4 separate regions of the Homo sapiens genome follow, and all the other regions are linked to region 1. Evidence: promoter capture Hi-C in human tissues and cell types (Jung and others, 2019). All regions are on one chromosome and are shown on one strand. The core of a region is centred on a gene start or on the middle of the fragment in contact, and the rest is flanking DNA. Distances in the headings are between cores, read along the strand shown. Region 1 holds the start of MZT2A (mitotic spindle organizing protein 2A). Region 2 overlaps FAM168B (family with sequence similarity 168 member B). Region 3 overlaps PLEKHB2 (pleckstrin homology domain containing B2). Region 4 overlaps PLEKHB2 (pleckstrin homology domain containing B2).

Evidence for each region. Contacts are between HindIII fragments. The study calls those that stand out against the background at their distance.
Region 2: a fragment that was not itself captured here is called in contact with the fragment with the promoter of MZT2A in region 1 in 1 of the 25 tissues and cell types used here (thymus).
Region 3: a contact is called between a fragment that was not itself captured here and the fragment with the promoter of MZT2A in region 1, in 1 of the 25 tissues and cell types used here (dorsolateral prefrontal cortex).
Region 4: a fragment that was not itself captured here is called in contact with the fragment with the promoter of MZT2A in region 1 in 2 of the 25 tissues and cell types used here (heart left ventricle and thymus).

What each region holds. Positions count from the first base shown.
Region 1 is chr2:131,491,015-131,493,995 of GRCh38, reverse strand. MZT2A (mitotic spindle organizing protein 2A) reads left to right here and starts at 1,599. Exons shown (of 3, transcript NM_001085365.2): 1 at 1,599-1,789; 2 at 1,972-2,120. The coding sequence starts at 1,620. It overlaps MIR4784 (microRNA 4784), which reads left to right and starts at 2,760; the gene lies at 2,760-2,836. It also overlaps the pseudogene SMPD4BP. RefSeq lists silencers at 659-848, 1,369-1,878 and enhancers at 681-1,474, 1,475-2,268. The HindIII fragment of the contact is 8,382 bases long and covers 1-2,981 here.
Region 2 is chr2:131,081,243-131,084,223 of GRCh38, reverse strand. FAM168B (family with sequence similarity 168 member B) reads left to right here. Exons shown (of 7, transcript NM_001009993.4): 2 at 1,567-1,647. The coding sequence starts at 1,578. Among named protein-coding and RNA genes, the nearest start is that of FAM168B, 11 kb to the left of the region's middle. The HindIII fragment of the contact is 4,151 bases long and covers 1-2,981 here.
Region 3 is chr2:131,109,554-131,112,534 of GRCh38, reverse strand. All of the region lies in intron 1 of PLEKHB2 (pleckstrin homology domain containing B2), which reads right to left. Among named protein-coding and RNA genes, the nearest start is that of PLEKHB2, 5.7 kb to the right of the region's middle. The HindIII fragment of the contact is 3,750 bases long and covers 1-2,981 here.
Region 4 is chr2:131,133,394-131,136,374 of GRCh38, reverse strand. The region is part of intron 6 of PLEKHB2 (pleckstrin homology domain containing B2); the gene reads right to left. Among named protein-coding and RNA genes, the nearest start is that of PLEKHB2, 30 kb to the right of the region's middle. The HindIII fragment of the contact is 8,401 bases long and covers 1-2,981 here.

The sequences.
Region 1 (2,981 bases), core at 350-2,849:
ACTGTGGACTGCTGGATAAGTGCGGAGCTCTAGAGATGATGAAGGGGAGAGCATCTCTGCTCAGTAAAAGCTTTCATGGGCAGCGACTGAAAGAATGAGGCCCAGAGGAATTTCTAGGAACTTTCCAAGAGAGGAAATTCAAACCCGAGAACTCCCAAGAGGTGTCTCCCACACCCCTGTTCTCTGACCCTGCCATGGCCACCCTCCCCCGTCACAGGTCTCTGCGTGCCATGCACCTAGAGTCCACTTCGTCGCGACTCTCCAACACCTATTTTCTCCAGGAGCTGCTTCGGACCCGTTTGTTTTTTTTGTTTCGTTTTGTTTTGTTTTTCTGACAGCGACAGCCCTTGGGCAACGCTAATCATTCCAAGCAAATTCTGTCATGCCAAGACCTCCCTTAACAGCACGCGCCCACTTGTTTCCAACTCTCCTGCGAATTGGGCTTCGGGAGCCTCCGAAACCAAGGCTCGGAGATGTGGAGCGCACAGGGGAAGGGTCGAGCTGGGACCCACACCCGGCTCTTCCTCCCACACCGCCTGTTGAGCCCAAGGCTCAATTTCAACACAAAGCTCTCCTTCCCTCAATTCCTTCAACGACGGGTAACCTTCAACGAACACCTACCGGACCAGAACAGAGTGTACGAGCGGCGCGGGAAGGTGGCACAAAGGCATGGCCCAGAGGAGTGGCAGGAAGACTCAGCCGGGGCCCTCCACTCCCCAGCCTGCCCGGCCTGGGCAGAGCCGCCGGGCCGCCCGAGTCCTGGGGCTCGCGGAGGAACGGAGATGGCCTCCGCAGGGGCTCGCGGAAGCCCCCAGGGCGTCGGACCGTCTCACGCGCGCGTCCCGCGCCACTCACCTGTGGGACCCATAGCGTCGCCCGCTTCAGAGGTGGAAGCCGCCATTCCGCCACCGCGCCAAAACGTCGTCATCAAGCTGCGCGCAGAGCCACGCCCCGCGGCCGGGCGGGAAAAGCGCTTCTACCTCTTTGGGCCGTTACCTCAAAAGGTACGTGCGCAAAGCGAAGAAGGCCGGCCGGCCGGCCAGGGAGGGGAAATGGCGAGGCAGGAGTGCGGGGGGAGGGAGTGGTCCTTAGCTGAATGCGCCTGCGTTGTGGCGGCCTCTGGCGCCCCAAGGTAGGGCTCACGCACTTTCTCCCTAGCAAGGAATGCGCGTGCGCGTAAGCAGGGTTGTTGATTAGTGCCCCCCACCCCCCCCGAAGAGCGACCCCTAGTGGTGCACCGGTGCGGACCAGAAAATTGCACGCTTTCTTGAAACAGGTATTGACTGAGCGCCCAATGTATGCCTGGCACTGGGCTGGGTGCTGCCACCTAAGCGAGCACGACCAATGCAAGTCTATCAGGGACGCCCTGACCGCCAAGCAGCTGGCCCCTGCAGTCCGCCATGCCACTCCCGACGCCTAGCGCGCCGCTCAGCACACCGTGAGCGCCCACTAACTGTTGGGCTCCAATGACGCCGAGGAGGCGGCCCCGTCCCCGCGCTCCCGCCGCTCCCGCCAGGGCAGCCCGGGAGGCCAGACGCTGGCGCTGCAGGGAGAGGGCGGTGGGCGCATCCGCTAGGGGGCGCGGCGGGGCGGGGCGCACCTTTCGGCGGGCCTCGCGGATGGCGGCGCAGGGCGTAGGGCCTGGGCCGGGGTCGGCGGCGCCCCCGGGGCTGGAGGCGGCCCGGCAGAAGCTGGCGCTGCGGCGCAAGAAGGTGCTGAGCACCGAGGAGATGGAGCTGTACGAGCTGGCTCAGGCGGCGGGCGGCGGTATCGACCCCGACGTGTTCAAGTGAGCGGGGCGGGTGGGGGCCGCATGCTCGCCAGACACCCCCGACCTCTGCTCTCCGGGTACGCCCGGCCCGCTGGTCGGGAGGAGCCCCCGCTGCCCCCGCCCCCGTCCTTGTCCGGTCTTCAGGGAGGTGGCCGCGCCGGGCGGAGAGGGCTCACCGGCCCCGCGTCTGTCCCCGCCAGGATCCTGGTGGACCTGCTGAAGCTGAACGTGGCCCCCCTCGCCGTCTTCCAGATGCTCAAGTCCATGTGTGCCGGGCAGAGGCTAGCGAGCGAGCCCCAGGACCCTGCGGCCGTGTCTCTGCCCACGTCGAGCGTGCCCGAGACCCGAGGTCAGAGCTGGGCCCGCTGTCCCTGCCCCAGTGGCGGGGGTGGCGGGCGGGGAGGGGGCAGGCGCGGCACAGCGGCGGCGTGGCCCTGAGTGGCCAGGCCTGTCTGTCGGTCGGTCTAGGCCCAGCACCTGCAGGGCCCATCCGTGGGCTCTGCTCCTGGGCTTCGCTGCCAGCCTTAGGAGGCACGTCCAGGTCAGGTGGACGCAGAGTGCGTGCCCCAGGGTGGTCCAGGCTGGGTAGGGCTCCTCCGCTTAGCTCCTCCCCACCTCTTCACTCAGGCCTTCATCCTACAAAGTCGGGAATCAAGACGGTTTGGGGCTGGGCGCCGTGGCTCACGCCTATAATCTTTGGGACCCCACGGCGGGAGGATCCTTTGAGGCCATGAGTTTGAGACCAGTCTGGGTGACAGGGTGAGATCCTGTCTCTAAATGTTTTTCAAAAGACAGTCTCGATCTCTGTCCTGTGGTATACAGCATCCAGGGAAGTGCCCAGGGAGCAGGGCAGGCAGACGTCTTCCTGCCTTTACCCCACCTGGGCCCAGTTCCTGCCTCTGATGATTGCAGGAAGAGAGTTAGACGCGGAACTCCCAGGGTGCAGAGGCCTGCGGGGTCTGAAGGGCCTCCTCCCTCTCCAGTGTGGTGACTGGGCTGAGGAGATGCTGGGACTGAGAGTGTCATGGTGGAGCCTCCGTCCCTGCTCATCCTCTCCGCATGTTGCTTCTGCTCCCGATGGCTCTCTCTGAAATGCAGCACAACCTCCCAGGCCAATGGAAGGAGGCCCAGAGCTGGCTCCCTGCCTGGAAGCAGGAGGAGACCCTCACAGGCATCATGAGAAGGCGTGGAAAGCAGGCTGCCTTCATGG
Region 2 (2,981 bases), core at 142-2,641, 410 kb after region 1:
AGCAAGACCCTGTCTTGGGGTGGGGTGGGGGGGGCGGAGGGGAGAAATACAGTCCCAGCACTTTGAGAGGCTGAGGTGGGCGGATCACGAGGTCAAGAGATGAGACCATCCTGGCCAACATGGTGAAACCCCGTCTCTACTAAAAATACAAAAATTAGCTGGGTGTGGTGGCGCACGCCTGTAGTCCCTGCTATGCGGGAGGCTGAGGCAGGAGAATCACTTAAACCTGGGAGGCAAAGTTGCAGTGAGCTGAGATCATGCCACTGCACTCCAGCCTAGCGACAGAGCGAGACTCCGTCTGGGAAAATAAATAAATAAATAAATAAATAAATAAATAAATAAATAAATACAGGAAATTGCAAAAGGACCACTAAATCCACTCCCATCTAGAGTCAATCACTGTTCATATTTTTATATATTTCTTTTCAGACTTTTTTTCTGTTTGTGCCAGGGATGCACATTTTTATACACATAGGTGTTTATATGGGATCATACTGTGTAATGCAGGATGCAGTATAATACTCTACTTTGTTTTCACTTAACATTGTATTATTCTGTTTTTAAACATTTCTTGAAAAGCAGCTGCGTGATATTTCATGTTCTGGATATGTCTTGGTTAACTTAACTATCCTCTGTTAGAAGAACATTTTGGTTACTTGTAGGGTTTTCCCCATGTTTTTTTTGCGACAAAGTCTCGCTCTGTTGTCCAGGTTGGAGTGCAATGGCATGAGCTTGGCTCACTGCTAATCTCCACCTCCTGGATTCAAGTGATTCTTGTGCCTCAGCCTCCCAAGTAGCTGGGATTACAGGTGTGCGTCACCACACTTGGCTAATTTTTGTTTGTTTTTGTTTTGTTTTGTTTTGTTTTTTTGAGACGGAGTCTCGCTCTGTCGCCAGGCTGGAGTGCAGTGGTGCAATATTGGCTCACTGCAACCTCCGACTACCTGGTTCAAGCGATTCTCCTGCCTTAGCGTTCTGAGTAGCTGGGATTACAGGCACGCGCCACCACACCCAGCTAATTTTTGTATTTTTAGTAGAGACGGAGTTTGACCATGTTGGCCAGGATGGTCTTGGTCTCCTGACCTCATGATTCCTCCACCTCAGCCTCCCGAAGTGCTAAGATTACAGGCACGAGCCACCATGCCTGGCCAATTTTTGTATTTTTAGTAGAGATGGGGTTTCACCATGTTGGCCAGGCTGGTCTCAAACTCCTGACCTCAGGTGATCTGCCCACCTCGGCCTCCCAAAGTGCTGGGATTACAGGAGTGCACCACCGTACCTGGCCTTTCCCCTTGCTTTTAGTGGACATATAGCTAACAATTTTTACTCCTTAGCTTCTGATGGACTGAGGAGAATTGTGAAAAAAAGTTTATCATGCCCTGGTTTGGCACCCATTAGGACATCGAGTGTCCCTTTTCTGTTCTTCGCTGGTTGGGGGCAGCATGAAATGCATTGTTTTATAGCAGCCTAGAGAAAGGACTCTAGCTACCTGCTTTTTGGGGACTGGTACTGGAGAAAAATCTGAGAGCAAAAGTGCTTGGCTAAATTCCCTTTTTTTTCTTTTAGTTTTTGAAATCATGAATCCTGTTTATAGTCCTGGATCTTCTGGGGTTCCCTATGCAAATGCCAAAGGAATTGGTTATCCAGGTAAGTAAGTAAAATTTTGTTTTCATTTTTGAACTTTGAATACTTGGTATATTTTCATGTCACTAAGAATGCTTTCTATTGACAAACGCAGCTCAAAGTGGCTTAGACAAGAAAGAAAATACCTGGAAGTGAAAAATCAAATGATAGGACTGGATTTGGTCAAAACTTGATCTAGTGGCTCCAGCAGTTGGGACCAGGATCTAGTTTCTCTACCTCCTGGTCTCAGCTTCGCTTCCTCAGTATTAACTTAGTGTTGGTCACAGGTCCCACTCCTTCTCATTGTGGTCTCTGAAGTTCAGGCCCCTCCCAGTAGTCCCTCACTAAGAGCCTCTTTACCTCCACTCTACAGGAAAGCCTGATGGGACTGCTTGTTCTCTATTCAAACCAGTCCTGGGCTTTGTTCTGATTAAACTCAGCATCCATCCCTGGGCCACAAAGGGGAGTCTGCTGATTGACTTAGGCCTGATCCACATCCCTTTAGTGGAGTCAGCTAGTCAAATATGGACTGCAAGTGAGGGTTGCAGCGAAATGGATATTGAGGGGATAGGAGCTGGTTGGTCAAAAATAGCAAATGGTTGTTCCCTTCGGTGACTTTGCACAAGGAGTAGTTATTTATAATGATACAGTTTCATTTTGGGTTTTGATAATATGGTAGAAGAGATAACCCCAAAACTTTGTTGCTAAGACTCTCAGAAAGTGAAATAAAACATTTTACAAATGTATAACTGAACTTGCAGGAGGTAAGAGAGATATCTGGGGTCAAATGTGAAGGCCATGTTAAACCCAGCTAACTTGGCCTTTGAACTAATGTCGTGCCTGTCCTGGGCACATGTGCTATTTGTGGGTTTTAACAACCCACATGGGGATAGAGATTGAGTATTAGGACCCTTGCGACAGGGAATGAGAGTGAGACTTCTTATCAGTCATTCTCGTCCCTCTGGAGGGTGATACTCTCAGCAAAGAGATAGACTAAACAGTCTAGTCGTCCAGTGGCCCCATAAGGAAGTTTATATGCTTGGGCTCTGAGAAGCGGGAGATCTTTACTAAGACTTTGTAAGCATTCAGAGATGTTTGGGGCTCTAGCTTGTATTATACTCCCCAGGGGTTCAGAAGTTGAGAAATTAACGTAAAAATAGTCTCCAGGCTTGGTTACTCCTGGGGCTCCTGACAGCAGCGAATGCAGAACTGCTGTGGGGGCATATGTTCACAACCCAGGTTGCGTGGGCTTCCTGCAGGCAAAGTTCTGCCTGCTAGCATGGGATGCCTCCCATCAAGTAAGAGGCACCAGCCATGACAGACTGCAGGAGAAGAACCATCAGGTAGATGCTATGTCA
Region 3 (2,981 bases), core at 195-2,694, 380 kb after region 1:
GCTGTCCTCAAATCTGGCCTAAATAAACTCTCTATTTATAGTAATTTTTGCTTTAGTTTCTTTCTTTAGGTCTATTAGAATTCCCCCATCTCCCTGTGTTTGATTAATTTGCTAGAGCAGCTCACAAAATTCAGGTAAACAATGACTTATATTTACCAGTTTATTATAAAGGGTATTACAAAGGACACAGATGAAGAGATGTATAGGGCAAGGTGTTAGTGTTCAGGCCTCTCCAGGCACACCACCCTCCCTCCAGGAACCTCCAGGTGTTCGGCTATTCTGGAGGCTCCCCAAACCCAATCCTTTTGGGTTTTTATGGAGGCCTCATTACATTAGCATGATTGATTAAACCAACAGCCACTGGTGATCAACATCACCTTGAACCCCTCTCTCCTTCCTGGAAGGTTGGGGGGCAGACATGAAAGTTCCAACCCTCTAAAGTCGCATAGGTGTTTCAGATGACCAGCTCCCATCCTGAAGGGAGTCTGCAGGCCATCAATCAATCATTAGCATACAAAAAGACATCATTTTGGAGATTTTTAAGGATTGTATTAAATAGGAGTTGTAAGGCAGGAAATGAGGTCAAAGACAAAATAAACATTTCACAGTACCACAATCAGACACTGGAGAAAAATCTAGACCATAAAAGATAGAGATTAAAGAAAATAAAATTTTCAAGAAAAAAACCTCAAGAATCAGAGACAATGCTGGGTACAAAAGAAAACTTTAAAAATATTACTTTACAGCTGGCCACAGTGGCTCACGCCTATAATCCCAACACTTTAGGAGGCCGAGGAGAGTAGATCACTTGAGGTCAGGAGTTCGAGACCAGCCTGGCCAACATGGTGAAACCCCGTCTCTACTAAAAATACAAAAATTAGTTGGGCGTGGTGGCAGGCTCCTGTAGTCCCAGCTACTCAGGAGGCTGAGGCAGGAGAATGGCGTGAACCCGGGAGGCGGAGCTTGCAGTGAGCCGAGATAGTGCCACTGCACTCCAGCCTGGGTGACTGGAGTGAGACTCCATCTCAAAAAAAAAAAAAACAAGAATAAAAAGAAATATTCAGAGCTCTCAATTAAAAATAATAACCAAAATTAAAAATTCAATACAAGAGTTGGAAAGATCAAGATGGAAGAAATCTCTCTGAAATGAAGAGCTAAAAAAAAAAAAAAAAAAGACCAAGAGATGGAAAAAAATTAGAGGATGAGCCTGGAATATAAAATATTCTGCTGGCTGGGCACAGTGGCTCATACCTGTTAATCACAGCACTTTGGGAGGCTGAGGTGGGTAGATCACTTGGGGTCAGGAGTTCAAGACGAGCCTGGCCAGTATGGTGAAACCCCATCTCTACTAAAAATACAAAAATTAGCCAGGCATGGTGGCACGCACTTGTAGTCCCAGCTACTGAGCAGGCTGAGGCAGGAGAATCACTTGAACCCGGGAGACGGAGGTTGCAGTGAGCTGAGATCCCACCACTGCATTCCAGCCTGGGCATCACAGCGAGACTCCGTCTCAAAAAAAAAAATTCTGCTTATAGGAGAATTTCATAAATAAACCACAGAGAAAAGAGCAGAGAAATAATACTATAAAACCATTTCCTGCAACAGGATAACACATTTCTAGATTCAAAAGATCCAATGACTGTCCAGCATGATGAATTTTAAAAGATTCTCCATAGGTAGGATGACTGAAATTTCATAACATCAAGGACAAAGAAGAGAACCTAAAAACTTCCCAAAGAAAAAAGCATATATAAAGGATCAACAATCAGCAAGACACAGGACATCTAGAGCAATACCTTCAAAATGCTAACGGAAAATTATTTCCAAGCCAGAATTCCACACCCAGTCAAATCATTAATCAAGGCCAGGCATGGTGGCTCTTGAGCATAATCCCAACACTTTGGGAAGCCAAGGTGGGAGAATCGCTTCAGCCCAGGAGTTTGAGACCAACCCAGCAACACAGTGAGACATTCTCAACAAAAAAATAAGAAGTTAGCTGCACATAGTGGTGCACGCCTGTAGTCCCACCTACTCGGGAGACTGAGGTAGGAAGATCGCTTGAGCCCAGAAGGTAGAAGCACAGTAAGCCATGAATGATCATGTCACTGCACTCCAGCCTGGGCGACAGAGTAGGATTCGGTCTTCAACTGGCAGGGGAGGAAATTCCCAGAAAGGCAGCTGTGCAGAAGGACTGGGGAGGAAAAAAAAAAAAAAAAACAGTCCAGACTGGAGCAGGACCGAGTACTACAGGGGAGGAAAAAAAGTAACTGACAAATTTCCTACAAGTTTTTGACTCACTGGTGGATTGAAGAGTTTTACAAGGCAGCAAAAGTCTTCTATGATCAAAAGTCAAAAGATTACATGTAAATCAATAGCAATTTTACCATATCCACAAAGATAAAATACTATTTTTTTTTTTTGAGACGGAGTCTCACTCTGTCACCCAGGCTGGAGGGCAGTGGCGCGATCTCAGCTCTCTGCAACCTCCACCTCCCAGGTTCATGCCATTCTCCTGCCTCAGCCTCCCGAATAGCTGGGACTACAGGCAACCGCCACCACACCCAGGTAATTTTTTTGTATTTTTAGTAGAGACAGGGTTTCACCGTGTCAGCCAGGATGGTCTCGATCTCCTGACCTCATGATCCACTTGCCTTGGCATCCCAAAGTGCTGGAATTACAGGTGTGAGCCACCACACCCAGCCAAAATACTATTTTAAAAAGTGCCAAAAAAAGGTGAAAATAGTTGTCTATAGTTTAAAAAGGGGGTGGACAAGAGATTGATATATTTTTTTTTATTCTAAGGTTTAAAGCACTATTTGGTTGTTTTTTTTGTTTGTTTGTTTTGAGACAGAGTTTCGCTCTTGTTGCCCAGGCTGGAGTATAGTGGCGCGATCTTGGCTCACTGCACCCATCGCCTTCCAGGTTCAAGCGATTCTCCTGCCTCAGCCTCCCAAGTAGCTGGGATTACAGGCGCCCACCAC
Region 4 (2,981 bases), core at 275-2,774, 360 kb after region 1:
TTTTTTGCAGCCATGGTGGCTCAGGAGGCTGAGGCAAGAGGATTGCCTCAGCCCAGGAATTCCAGGCTGAAGTGAGCTAATGATAGTACCACTGCACTCCATCCTGGGCAAGAGAGTGAGACCTCATCTCTCAGGGGGTCAGGGGAGAGAGGAGAGGAGAGGAGGAGAGGGGACGGGCGGGGGAAAGGAGAGAGGGAGGGAGGGAGGGAGGGAGGAGGCAGGAAGACAGGCAGGCAAGCAACTGACAACCAGTCATGATAAACACTCCTGGAAACTAGAAAAAGGGAATTTCTAAACCTGATAAAGAATAAATATAAAAAACCTCCAGCTAACAGCATACTTAATGAATGCATTAAATACTAAATATATGCATATGTAAAACTAAATACTGAATTCAGTACTAATTAAATACTGAATTAAACAGTACATTCATAATAAATGAATGCATACTTAAAACTGAATACACTGGCCGGGCGCGGTGGCTCACGCCTGTATTCCTAGCACTCTGGTAGGCCAAGGTGGGTGGATCACAAGGTCAGGAGATCGAGACCATCCTGGCTAACATGGTGAAACCCCGTCTCTACTAAAAATAAAAAAAATAAAAAAATTAGCCGGGCATGGTGGCAGGTGCCTGTAGTCACAACTACTAGAGAGGCTGAGGCAGAATGGTGTGAACCCGGGAGGCGGAGCTTGCAGTGAGCCGAGATCTCGCCACTGCACTCCAGAGCCTGGGTGACAGAGCGAGACTCCATCTCAAAAAAAAACACTGAATACATCCCCCCTAAAATCAGGAACAAGGCAAGGATGTCTTCTCTCACTACTGCTATTCTACATAATATTTGAAGGTCTAACCAAGGCAACAAGGCAAGGTAAGGAAACAGAAGGCATAAAGGTTACAAAGAAAACAGATTCCTATTTGTAGATGACATGATTGCCTATGTAGTATATCCCAAAGAATCTACAGAAAAAGGAAATAGAGTAAGTGAGCTTAGAAAGTTTACAGGCGCCGACCAGGCACCATGGCTCATGCCTGTAATCCCAGCACTTTGAAGGCCAAGGCAGGTGGATCACCTGTGGTCAGGAGTTTGAAACTAGCCTGGCCATCATGGTGAAACCCCATCTCTACTAAAAATACAAAAAATTAGTGTGGTGGCACGTGCCTGTAATCCCGGCTACTCAGGAGGCTGAGGCAGGAGAATCGCTTGAACCCAGGAGGCGGAGGGTGCAGTCAGCCAAGATCGCGCCACTGCACTCCAGCCTGGGCAATAAGAGAGACACTCTGTCTCAAAAAAAAAAGAGAAAGTTTACAAGCTGCAAGATCAACCTACAAAAATCAATTCTATTTCTCTATACTGGCAGTAAACAAAGGAAACTAAAACTAAAAATGTAATACCATATGCAATCACTAAAAAAACTGAAACACTTATAAATCTAACAAAACATGTATGGGATTTTTATACTGAAAACCTCAAAATGCTGATGAAAAAAATCAAAGAGGATCTAAATACACATGCAGTCCATGTTTATAACTGGAAGATTCAACATTCAATAAAGATGTCATTACTCTCCAAATAAATATGACACAGGTTTAAGGCAATTCCTGCAAAAGCCTTGCAAGATTTCATTGTAGATATAAACAAATTTATTCTAATGTATATGGAAAGCTAATGGAACCAGAATAGCTAAAACATTTCCAAAAAGGAACAAAGAGGGTGTTGATCAGTCCACCCAGTTCCAAGACTTTTTATAATAGCTGCAATAATTAAGACTGTGTGGGATCAAAGGAAGGTAACAATACAGAACAATGGAGCAGACCACAGACCTCAGAAAGAGATACACTCAACAGAGCCCTGAAAAAGACATCTATCTTATAAAAAATTAATTCAAAATTAATACAGAATAATTATAAAACCTCACTATAAAACTTTCAGAAAATAATGTAGGAGAAAATCTTAGGAAACTTGGGCTAGGTTTGTCATGTTAAGTTTTAACCTGACAGCAAAAGCACAACCGAGAAAAGGAAAAGCCAATAAATCAGCTCATGCCTGTAATCCTAGCTCTTTGGGAAGCTGAGGCAGGAGAACCGCTTGAACCCGGGAGGTGGAGGTTGTGGTGAGCCGAGATCGTGCCACTGCACTCCAGTATAGGCAACAAAAGCGAAACTCCATCTCAAAAGGGCCGGGTGCAGTGGCTGACACCTGTAATCCCAGCACTTTGGGAGGCCGAGGTGGGCGGATCATGAGGTCAGGAGATTGAGACCATCCTGGCTAACACAGTGAAACCCCGTCTCTACTAAAAATACAAAAAATTAGCCGGGCGTGGTGGCGGGCGCCTGTAGTCCCAGCTACTCGGGAGGCTGAGGCAGGAGAATGCCGAGAACCCAGGAGGCGGAGCTTTTAGTGAGCCGAGATCGAGCCACTGCACTCCAGCCTGGGCGATAGAGCAAGACTCCATCCCAAAAAAAAAAAAAAAACCACTCAGCAATAAAAAGGATTATTGACAAAGAGCAACTTGGACAGATCTCAAGGGCAAATACTGAGTGAAAAACGTTAAACTCCCAAGACCACGTGCTATATGATTTCATTTATATGACATTGTTGAAATGATAAAACTATAGAGCTGGAGAACAGTTCAGTGATTGACAGGGTTTAGGGAAGCAGAGGGATGGCATGACTATTAAAGGGTGTCACAGCAGGAAGATTTTGTGAAGAATTCTTTATCTTGATTGAGGTGGTAGCTACACAATCTACACGTATGAGAAAATGACACAGGATTACTCTTAAATACCACACCAATTCCAAATTCCTGGGTTTAATTTGATCGAATATTAACAAATGGGGAAAACACATAAAAAGCACATGAGACTCTCAAAGCTATCTTTGCAACTTCTTGTGAATCTATAATTATTTCAAAATTCAATTTTTTTAAAAGCTGCGTGTTCCACACAACAGACTTACATACGTTCCACTAGCTCAGTCAGC